Regions from separate parts of the Homo sapiens genome. Here all the other regions are linked to region 1. The links are contacts of gene promoters, found by promoter capture Hi-C in blood cells and fetal thymus (Javierre and others, 2016). All regions are on one chromosome and are shown on one strand. The core of a region is centred on a gene start or on the middle of the fragment in contact, and the rest is flanking DNA. Distances in the headings are between cores, read along the strand shown.

Region 1 (2,801 bases), core at 123-2,622:
TTGAGCTGGGTTGTCTGGGTTCATTCCTTAATCTTCAGAGCTCAGGGAAACTGAGTCAGAGTGACCAGTGGTCAATTCCAGCAGAAAGAGTGTCAGGAGGTGGGTGCCGTGTCTTCCAGCCCTAGCTTTTCCCTATTTAGAGGAAACAAGGAATGGGCGTGTAGAGGGTTCTTGTCCCTAGAACATAGTATCAACCGCCAGATGTCGCCCGATCCCAAAGCCACCAGATCGGGCAGTCCTGGGAAGCCAAAATCCAGCTCTTTCATATTTTCCCTTATTTGGAGTAGATTCTTGGATGTTAGGCACACCCCGCCCACCACACCACCCCTGGCCCTCAGACCCCAGGCCAGACCCTCCCACTGGGAGGTATAGCCCAAGCCCAGGAGCTGTTCAGCTGGGATCCCTAAGGAGCTGTTTCCAGGCCTGCGTAGCCAGGGGGCGCAGGAGGGAAGGAAGCCGCAGACTGGCAAGGTGAGAAGAGACCTGTGCTGGCAAGTCCAGGTGCGGCAGGTGAGGTCGCCCATTCCCAAGCTCCCACCTTGACGGTGCACTCGGAGCACTTACAAATGGGTCTGCCAGTGGATTTTAACCTATTTTGCCTGGCCCCAGGTGGCACGGGAATCTGGGGACATTGTTGGTTATATCCTGGCTGGCAGTGCGCATCCAACTCAGAGCCAACCTGGCATAGGGCCCAGGGCCCAACCAAGGAACCTGGCCTGGTCTCATCCTCACCATGGCCCCCATGGAGTAGAGCAGCCCCAGAACCAGCTCCCCTGTGCCCAAAGCAGCTGGTGCCCTGTGGACTCGAGCCAGCAAGGGACACGCTGTCCCCCTCCCAGTGGGCACACTGGCTGAGAAGTGTCCTTCCAGGTGGCCACTCGCCCTGAGTCCACACAAGTTCCTGGTGTCAGGGCCCTTCTCTCTCAGGCATGCAGTGGTCCGTTCATGGGCAAGTGCCCAGACACCCTCTCTCTCTCGGGGACCCCCCATGGCCTCAGGCTCCCACATTCGTGGGCACAGACATGGCTCGTGGGTCAACTAGGGAAGCTATTCTCTGGACACTCACTCCCAGATGCCAGGGGAGCCTCCATCGGCTCACGCATCCCAGCTGAACCTGGCCCGGACCTGGGCGCGAGCTGGCGCCTGCGTTTTCCGGCCTCTCTGCCCGCCTTCTCCAACCCCGCCCCCGGCCGACGAGGAGCGCGGCGACCCTACGGCGCGAAGCCGGGCCGCGGAGACCTCACCTGCTGTTCCTGAGAGCGACCGGTGACCGATGACCGCGGGGTGGCGCCCGGATCGCCTTCGCGCCCGCGCCCGCGCCAGGCGCCTCGGGGATTCTGTCGGCGTCCGCTGCGCGCGACGCGCCTCCACGCGAATGGGCCGCCGCCGCCCGCCTTCTTGTTGGCCGCACCCCCGCCCCGCGCCCGCCCCGCGCCCGGCCCGGCCCGGCGAGAAAGCCTTAATTGGTAAAATTGCCCAGGAGCCCGGGACGGGTGCGTGGGGGGCGGGGGTGCGGGGGCACGCCGTGAGCTCCAGCGACCCGCCGCCGGGCGACGCCGCCCCCCGAGATGAGCTCACCGCCGGCGAGGGCCGCCAGGCCCTGGGGGAGGGAGGGCTTCGTGGGGGAGTCGCCTCCAGCGCCCACAGGGACTGCAGGGCTCGTGTCTAGGCCCAATCACAAGGATCCTGCGTGTCTGAGTCTGGGGGAGCCAAGCGCACCCCAGGTGGAAAGGCCGAGGCCCAAGGCCACCTTCTCCAAGGAGCCACCCACAGTCACAGCCCCTGGTGTCTGTCCCAAGCCGGGATTGTTTCCTGGGGTGGGGGCAACAGGTCGTTGCAGGTGTTGGCTGGGCGCCTACGTCAGGCAGGGCCCCGGGACGGGACTGCAGGGCTCCGAGCCCTGGGATGAACCTGACTGCCATGGATCAGGCGCTGCCAGGTCTGGCCTGGGGTGGGCAGCAGAAACAGGATCGCTCAGGGGGACGAGAAAGTTAAGTTTGTTTAGTATTAAGAAGATTCTGATCTTAAAGAAAACATTGGCCGGGCATGGTGGCTCATGCCTATAATCCTAGCACTGTGGGAAGCTGAGGCAGGTGGATTAATTGAGCCCGGGAGTTTGAGACCAACCTGGGCAACACAGCAAGACACTATCTCTACCAAAAATATAAAAATTAGCTGGGCGTGGTGACGTGCACCGGTAGTCTCAGCTGCTCAGGAGACAGATGGGAGGATCGTTTAAGCCCGGGAGTTTGAGGCTGCAGTGAGCTATAATTTCACCACTACACTCCAGCCTGGGTCACACAGTGAAACCCTGTCACTAAACATAAAAAAAAAGGCCAGGTGCGGTGGTTCATGCCTGTAATCCCAGCACTTTGGGAGGCCGAAGTGGGTGGATCACGAGGTCAGGAGTTCAAGAACAGCCTGGCCAAGATGGTGAAACCCCGTCTCTACTAAAAATATAAAAACTAGCCGGGCGCAGTGGCAGGCGCCTGTAATCCCAGCTACTCGGGAGGCTGAGGCGGGAAAATCGCGTGAACCCGGGCGGCAGAGGTTGCAGTGAGCCGAGATCACGTCACTGCACTCCAACCTGGGTGATAGAGACTCCGTCTCAAAAAAAAAAAAAAAAAAAAAAAAAAAGGCCGGGCGTGGTGGATCCCAGCACTTTGGGAGGCTGAGGCAGGTGGATCACGAGGTCAGGAGTTTGAGACCAGCCTGGTCAACACAGTGAAACCCGGTCTCTACTAAAAATACAAAAATTAGCTGGGCGTGGTGGCAGGCGCCTGTAATCCCAGCTACTCGGG
Region 2 (2,801 bases), core at 8-2,507, 450 kb before region 1:
GACCTCTGCGCTGAGGCCAACAGATGGCCAGAGCCACCCGGTTGAGGGGGAAGGGGAAGGGTGTCCCAGAGAGAGGGGAGAGCCGCCCCAGCGCCAGCCAGGCACCTTTCAGTTTGGCTTCCTGTCTCTCCCTCGTTCCTGGAAAGCCTCTGAATGGTTTCCCCTGCGACTTCCTTTCCCGCCGGTACCCAGGCTCCGGGAGGTGGCAGCCTCCCTTGCAAACACACGGATACACAACACACAGATCACAGTGCTGCTCAGGGCAAGCCTGCAGCGATCTCGCAGTCTCAGTGGCTGGGGAAGCCTGCCCTCAGGCCCCAGGGGAAAGGACAGTCCACAGTGAGGGCTGGGAGCCAGGGAGAGCTGATCCGGCCTTGTAAGTGAAAGAATGGGGCAGGGAGCTAGCCCCCGTCTTCTGACCCCACTTCCCACTCCCAATCACCCCCCGCCCCACCTGTGCATTCCCCCACCCTGCAGAGAGAGTCACACCCAGGGCCCCATACTGCCGGCCTTTTGACACCCTATCACTGGCTTGATTTGGCAACGCTGCTTCCCCCACACAGGCCTGAAGCAAAGAAGTGCCTGTCCAGCAAGTTTAAGCAACCTGCGGAAGACACTTTTGCCATCTCCTGAGTGCCCGTCCCGAGTAAATAAGATGCTAGCTCAGCTTCTGGCCAGCAGGCTGCCCACCTACTCATCTCCATCCACATCCCCAGGGAGGGACATGAATTGATGTCTTCATTCAGCAGAATGTTGATTATGCACCCATTCTGTGGCAGGCACGTTTTAAATACAAAGGCAAAGAGGTTTGACCAAGTGTCTGCCCTCTTGGAGCTGGGATTGGAATGGGGCACGAACACATATCAGAATGCCCAGGAGTGATGGGTGCGGAGAAGATGAACCCACAAAGCAAGATCAGAGCCAGGGGTGGGTGGGGACAGGGAGGACCTCTTTTTAAAGGAGGGTGGTCAAGAACAAGCCGCATCGTTGGAGCAGAAGGCTGGAGCTGGCTGTACGTGGGCAGTAGGGGGAGTCCGAGAGACCGGTAGGGACAGATGGCACAGAGCCCGGGGTCTGGGCAGAGCTCCCAGCTGGACTCCGAGTGAGAGAGGAGCCACAGTAGTGGGGTGATGTGGTCCAGCTTCGTTTTCAGGGCCCCCTCACACTGCCAGGTGGAGCCCAGGTGGCAGCTACTGTGCTAGTCCAGGCAAAAGACGGCAGGATTCAGACCAGCAGCAGCGAGGGAGGACTCCGCTGAGAAGAGCTCAATCCCATTGGATTTCTGTCCCGCCAGTGACTTCCCAGGGGCTGTTGCATGGGGACCCTGTGGGTTCCGCCTGCCCAGCATCCCTACCTCCTCCCCTGATCTCCTATTGGAGAATGTCCCCTTCCTAGTCTCAGCCCCCTTGACTCCAGGTGCCCCAGCCCTGGCTGCATGCGTCACCCATCCCTCTGTCCCTCCACTCCCTGCCCCCACCAGACTAGCCAGGTGAGGGACCCAGGAGCCTGACCCTTCCAATTGAATTACTGAACAGGAGAGCTCTTCCCACCGGCAGATCAAGCTGGGTAAGTGGAAGCCTGGGGCACGGGACCTCCCGACAGAGCAGGGCAGAGCCCACGATGCCAAGTGAGACAGATGGAGAGTGTCTTCATCCTATCCGAGGCTGGCCTCCTGTGGTTAACTCGTCAGCTCCAAGGCCAGGTGGGGTGGGCGCTAATGCCATTTGAAATCAGGAGAGTCCTCACTGAATCAGTTTAACGTTTTGTTTTGATTTTTTGTTTTGAGACGGAGGATGTTGCCCAGGCTGGAGTACAGTGGTGCGATCTCGGCTCACTGCAACCTCCGCCTCCCGGGTTCAAGCGATTCTCCCGCCTCAGCCTCCCGAGTAGCTGGGACTACAGGGGCGCACCACCACACCCAGCTAATTTTTGTATTTTTAGTAGAGACAGGGTTTCATCATGTTGGCCAGACTGGGTCTTGAACTCCTGACCTCAGGTGATCCGCCCGCCTCGGCCTCCCAAAGTGCTGGGATTACAGACGTGAGCCACCACGCCTGGCCCAGTTTAACATTTTTTGATAAAAGTAAATTTCATTTCATTCCAAGAAAGGTGTTAGACAACTGCTCGCCTCACTGGCCCTCTGGAGCCTGCCCTGCCCTGCTTCCCCCAGAGGAATACAATCCCTGGGGACTTATGACAACTGAACAGTGCAGAAGGAACCAGCAGAGGGAACCGCTGCCTTTCTTCATCACTGCCGGCAGCAAAAGCTGACTGGAAGCCATGTCCTAGTCCAGATCCGGGCATGCACACCGGCTGGTGTTGAGCAGGCAACTTGTGAATTGCAAGTCGATTGCATTGGTGGCTTTCCTGGCAGAGCTTTCGGATCTCAGTTCAGACAAACTCGTCAGCACACCCTGTCCTGACCTCCCCCTAAACTAGGGCTGGCCCTCTTCCGACCCCTTCTTGGCACCGTGCACTTTCCTTCCCTTTGTAGTGCTTATTATCATAATGCAAAGTCTATGTCTCCCCCACTAGACCCGTGAGCCATGTGAGGGCGGGGTGGCCACTGACGCCATTTGAAATCAGGGGAGTCCTCATTGAATCATTGCTTTTACTCTGGGTAAAAAGCCAGGGCTGGAGGGGCTGGAGTCGGGGTTCTCTCTGGTACAGCAGTATACTCCCAGGGCCTGGGACAGCACAGATGTATAGGAAACATCTGGCAAAAGGAGAGCTGGAATCCATGTCTGCCTGAATTACAGAGCTGGGCCCCGGGCCCCACCAGCACTTCCTGTGAGCAAGGC
Region 3 (2,801 bases), core at 156-2,655, 330 kb before region 1:
GCTATGCCAACTGACAGTAATATTTTGAAGCAGTGGTAGGCAAGCTTTTTAACAATTAAAGAGAATGCCTTCATATTACACAAAGACATTAAGAAAAAAAGCTGAAGGCTGGGCACGGAGGCTCACACCTGTAATCCCAGCACTTTGGGAGGCTGAGGTGGGCGGATCACGAGGTCAGTTCGAGGCCATCCTGACCAACATGGTGAAACCCCCTCTCTACTAAAAATAAAAAATTAGCCAGGTGTGGTGGCGCGCACAAAGGGACCGGGGCGGTGCTGGCGGCGATGCCAACAGACCTCAGTGTACTGTGGGGTTCTTTCAGCCAGAACTGTTCATGGTTTCATCAGTGAGCTCCAGTTACCACACCACACAAGTTTGGAGTGATCCACCCCGCCCCAGTTTTTCCTGCACGAACTCATGTTTTTATTGTGTGATTTACAGAACACAAGATCTTTTTCTAAGAATGCACACATCACACGTTGAAGCAGAAAGGCCTTTACAAAATCTTAAAATACCTACAAAATATGAAGTAAGGCTCTTAAGAAATAAAATATTCAATGATTTTGCTGCTAGAATGCAAACATTAGATCAAATCCTTCATTTGATCTAGCAAAGGAAAATTAGAGTTGCAGGAATCTTGTTTTCAGGCCAAACCATGACATCCTGAGGGGTCTGATGGCAGGAACTGCCTGCATTTTCCTCATGAATGTGACCTGCAGTGATCTTGTGAGAAAGGCCCGGAAGGCCGTGCAAATTACAGGGGTACAAGCAACAGCTGGCAGGTGTGGCCAGACAGGCAACTGCAGTTAAGGAAAGACTACTCAATCCCTGAGGTTTTCAGATTTTACAAAAAGGCAAAAAAGCCAGGTGAACAAGGCAGATGAAAGGTATTTTTCACTTGAATTGGAATCCAGCCCCCTCCCTGTCCCCTGGAGTGAGCTCCAGAGAAACTTCCAGAGCCCCAGCAATATCCCAACCTTTCGTAAATTCACTCATGCTCGCCACTTTCAGGAGATGGCATTTCTCAGCACCTTTCACTTCCAGTTATCCCTCGGCACAGCACAAAGAGCTAAACTACCACTCGAGGCAGTTAACCTAAGGGCAGGGTGGTGGCTACAGCTCCAGGTGAACAGTCTGGGACCAGAGGAAATAATGAGCCCCCCCTTGTACTGGCTGCTTCCACCCTAAAGTGTCATCCAGATGGTGTTTCCAATTCTTTCTACTTCCAGTATTAGCTGCAGAATTACGGAATCAAGGAGGCTTCTCTGCATGAATCAATAAAGGCTATAGCACTTTGAGACACAAGCTTTGGCCCTTTAAAAATGTGAGAAATCAAACTGGCACAGGCAGAGTGTCTCAGTGGTCTCCAGGGAGCAAGAGAGAATGAGGTTCAGCTTGAAGGCTACAAGGGTGGAGCCTGAGGTTCAGCTGCCCTGCTCTGAATTCGCAGTCCATTTCTTAATCCTCCACTTTTGAGAAGATGCGAGAAACCAGTTATGTTTTGCTAAGCTTAAATAAAATGCAGTTCTTGCCAACCAAAAGCAGAACCCTCCCCAAATACAGGCAACCAGTGCCATACAGCAAATCTCATCTTTATAGATGTGTAAAATGAAAACCGAAACACAAGCCCACCACATACAGGTTAAAAAATTCCTGCTGTGGAGAACAGTTTGGCAGTTTCTCAAATGTTAAACATGGAGTTACCATATGACCTGGCAATTTTACTCCTAGCCATACACTCTCAAAAAGCCACAACTATGCCGGGTGCGGTGGCTCACGTCTGTAATCCCAGCACTTTGGGAGGCTGAGGTGGGTGGATCACCTGAGGTCAGGAGTTTGAGACCAGCCTGGCCAATATGGCGAAACCTTGTCTCTACTAAAAATACAAAAAAATTTAGCCGGGCATGGTGGTGAGTGCTACCTGTAGTCCCAGCTACTCAGGAGACTGAGGCAGGAGAATTGCTTGAACCTGGGAGGTGGAGGTTGCAGTGAGCAGAGATCGTGCCACTGTAATCCAGCCTGGGCGACAGAGCAAGACCTTGTCTCAAAAAACCAAAACAAACAAACAAAAAACCAAAACCAGTAACCAAACAGATATCCGTACACCAGTGTTCATGGCAGCACAGTTTACAACAGCCAAATGGTGGGGGCAACCCAAATATGCATTCCCAAGGGATGGGTGGATAATCAAAACCTCATTATCTATAGGATATAATATCATTCAGCCTCAAAAAGGAAAGAAATTCTGACACATGCTACAATGCAGATGAACCTTGAGGACATTACGCTCAGTGAAAGAGGCCAGACACAAAAGGCCAAATAGTGCATAATTCCATTTATAGGAAATGTCCAGAATAGGCAAATCCATAGAGACAGGAAGTGGATGAGTTGTTGCCAGGGGCTGCGGGTAATAAGAGGTGACTGCTCCTGTGTCTGGGGTTTCTTTTGGGTGCTGAAAGTGTTCTGGAATGACACAGAGGCGATGGTTGCACAACTCTGTGAATGTACTAAAAGACACTGAATTGCACATTTTATTTTTAAACAATTTTTTCTGTGAGCCTATGAATTATACTGAAGAATGAATTGTACACTTTAAATGAGTAAATTTCATGGTATGTGAATTATATCTAAATTAAAAAAAACAACAACATTAAAACAGCAGCTGACCACCAATTATTCTAAATCATAAAGATAGGTTTTGTGATGCCTGGCCAGTGCTCAGAGCCCACACAGCTGTCTCAGAGCAAGTCTATCTGGCTGTGGCACAGAGCCCCGGCAGATAGATGGGCTGTCCGTCTGAG
Region 4 (2,801 bases), core at 87-2,586, 280 kb before region 1:
GTATATATAACACCATCCTGAGGCCAGGCACGGTGGCTCACGCCTGTAATCCCAGCACTTTGGGAGGCCAAGGCAGGTGGATCGCCTGAGGTCAGGAGTTCGACACCAGCCTGGCCAACATGGTGAAACCCATCTCTACTAAAAATACAAAAATTAGCTGGGTGTGGTGGCAGGCGCCTGTAATCCCAGCTACTCAGGAGGCTGAGGCAGGAGAATCACTTGAACCCAGGAGGTGGAGGTTGCAGTGAGCCAAGATTGTGCCACTGTACTCCAGCCTGGATGACAGAGCAAGACTCCATCTCAAAAAAAGAAAAAACAAAACAAAACAAAAACCCTCCTGTTAATTACAACACAAAAAGTACACAGTTTAGTCTTAGAAGACTTAGAAGGATCTACATTAAGCTATTAACAGCAGTTATTCTGGGTAGTGGGAGCAGAGATTAAGCGGGGAGCTTTCATTTTTTTACCTGATACTTTTTTTTTTTTTTTTTTTTGAGACCGAGTCTCACTCTGTCACCCAGGCAGGAGTTCAGTGGTGTGATCTTGGCTCACTGCAACCTCCGCCTCCCAGGTTCAAGTGATTCTCCTGCCTCAGCCTTCCGAGTAGCTGGGACTACACGCTCAAGCCACCATGGCCAGCTAATTTTTGTATTTTTAATAGAGATGGGGTTTCGCCGTGTTAGCCAGGCTGGTCTCGAACTCCTGACTTCAGGTGATCCACCCGCCTAGGCCTCCCAAAGCGCTGTGATTACAGGCATGAGCCACCTTGCCCAGCCACCTGATCAATTTTTAAGTGGTTTGATTTTTCTATAAATCCATGTATTATTTTAGTAATTCTTTAAAAAGTAAAAGAAGAAAAATAGATATCAAGCATTTATCTACTAAAGACGGGTACTGTCCTTTGAGAATTCCCTCAAAAGTTCTTTGAAGCTCAAATGGCTACATCTTTCCCATTCATAAGATACTTTTTAAATTTCCTCTTTCTACATTTCTTTTTAAAAGTTTATTTTCAATTAGCTTCCTCAGGTTGAACTCTCTGTACATTTCTTAGGAGAAACTGTATGGTGTCAACACTGCCTGTTTTATAACATCCATTCGTAATCTGTAATCTGAGAAAAAGACTCGTAAAAACCCAAACCACCCTCCAGGCCTAACATCTTCCAGAAGAAACCCATTCACTGCCCATATTACATTTAGTCCACACAATTTCTGAGACAAAGCACAAAGCACTAGCCATACAACTCCCACCAGCATAAATACGTGGAGTACAAAGAATGTCCTGTCAGCTGGGCCCAGAGCACACCCCACAGCAGTAAAAGAGAATGACAATTTGAGTCACAGGATCAGGAGCAGAATCAAATTTGGGACTTGAGGCAGTGTGATGCTCTTCTGGTCTTCCGCTTCCTTCCACACCTTCTATTCTCCTTCAGCCAAACCTTGCCCTCACATAATCCCTAAGCAGGCTATTTCTTATGGATGTCTACAACAGCTTCACACTGAGGTGTCAGAAACCACTAGAGAGACAACAAAGAACGACTTAGGGTCTCAGTCGGAATCACAATGGCCGCATAAGTGAAAACTCACATTTTTGCTTAGGGGAAAAAAAATGGGAAAATTCAATTGGAACATTCTGCTTTACCACACAGAAGTTCTGAAATCCACATGTCAAAACATCAAATGCGGAGTGACCACTAATCAAAAAGACAAAACAAAACAACAACAACAACAACAACAACAAACAGCTTGAGATGTTGAGCCTGAAGGTTGAGAAATTAAGGAACCATTCATTTTTACAAAACTAAAGTCCACACAATGGTGCCAAGTAGTTCAAACTGCAGCTGATACAGCACCTGAGTGTCAGACCTAGAATGACTGGGGCCCCCAGGTTTTTACAAAGTACTCATCCTCCTCTAGAGTCCCAAGAACCAGATGTATATCTGGGTACTCTCTTTAGTTACCATGGGAGGAGTGTAGCAAGCACATGACATTAGCCATGGCCCCCGGTGTTCTGAGACAGCTTTCAGGAGGGTGTCCTTCTAGGGAACCAACCACATACCAGTTCCCATATCTGAAAATGCATTACCACTGCTCACTAATGTTGACCACTAAGCCATTTACCCCAAACCAAAGCAAACACATGCTGAAGACCGCTAAGGCAACAGCAGCAGCGCAAAAGGGCTCAGTGCAAGCGCTCTCAGCTCAGCTGACCTGCTTCAAGGTGAACTGAAGTTGCAGATCACCAGTTCCGGCTCTAATCTGACGCCCGCCCCCAGATCACGCTGTGGCGACCAAGTAACCCTACACACACTGACCTTTCAGGGCTCAGGGAAGTGACTTTTTTTTATTATATGGCACAGTTTGGCACAGTTATGTCTTTAGTCTTTGGGGTACTTTTATACTGTCCAAGAGTAGTATATTTTTTTCCTCTTTTCCTTTTTTTTTTTTTTTTAAAAAAAAAAAAAACAGATGGCCAAACCAGGACATATACTAAAAAAAAAAAAAGGAAGGTTACTTACCTGAGCCCTAACATCCCAGCTACCATGGAATCCTGTTGGAGCTGGTCTACAGAAGCAAGGTGTATTCTGGGGAGTCACATGTCACATCAAAGCAGGAACTGGTGAGTCTGTATTTTTATGGAGCCTAAAACAAAGAAAATTGTAAGTTGAAAGCCCCCATTGAGCTGCACGACCTTTTTCCCAGGGCTATTTGGGACATTTTGAAGATAAACACATAGACAAAGTACTAGGCTATTTCCCAGCTTACCTAGCTAGAAACAAAGGATAAGCTGCAAATTACTGGCA

Evidence for each region. The method cuts DNA at HindIII sites, captures the fragments that hold promoters and counts their contacts. A CHiCAGO score of 5 or more calls a contact.
Region 2: a fragment that was not itself captured here is called in contact with the fragment with the promoter of FLNA in region 1 in 2 of 17 cell types (total CD8 T cells and M0 macrophages); the score reaches 6.2 in total CD8 T cells.
Region 3: a fragment that was not itself captured here is called in contact with the fragment with the promoter of FLNA in region 1 in 1 of 17 cell types (M0 macrophages); the score reaches 5.9 in M0 macrophages.
Region 4: a fragment that was not itself captured here is called in contact with the fragment with the promoter of FLNA in region 1 in 2 of 17 cell types (M0 macrophages and monocytes); the score reaches 6.4 in M0 macrophages.

Annotation. Positions count from the first base shown.
Region 1 is chrX:154,373,262-154,376,062 of GRCh38, forward strand. It overlaps FLNA (filamin A), which reads right to left and starts at 1,373. Exons shown (of 48, transcript NM_001110556.2): 1 at 1,245-1,373. RefSeq lists an enhancer at 111-160 and silencers at 1,250-1,309, 1,320-1,459. The HindIII fragment of the contact is 17,250 bases long and covers 1-2,801 here.
Region 2 is chrX:153,922,019-153,924,819 of GRCh38, forward strand. All of the region lies in intron 1 of ARHGAP4 (Rho GTPase activating protein 4), which reads right to left. Among named protein-coding and RNA genes, the nearest start is that of ARHGAP4, 2.8 kb to the right of the region's middle. RefSeq lists enhancers at 1,406-1,906, 2,413-2,542. The HindIII fragment of the contact is 3,334 bases long and covers 1-2,801 here.
Region 3 is chrX:154,040,775-154,043,575 of GRCh38, forward strand. The region is part of intron 1 of MECP2 (methyl-CpG binding protein 2); the gene reads right to left. Among named protein-coding and RNA genes, the nearest start is that of MIR718, 22 kb to the left of the region's middle. RefSeq lists an enhancer at 274-774. The HindIII fragment of the contact is 203 bases long and covers 1,305-1,507 here.
Region 4 is chrX:154,089,668-154,092,468 of GRCh38, forward strand. All of the region lies in intron 1 of MECP2 (methyl-CpG binding protein 2), which reads right to left. Among named protein-coding and RNA genes, the nearest start is that of MECP2, 6.6 kb to the right of the region's middle. The HindIII fragment of the contact is 6,480 bases long and covers 1-2,801 here.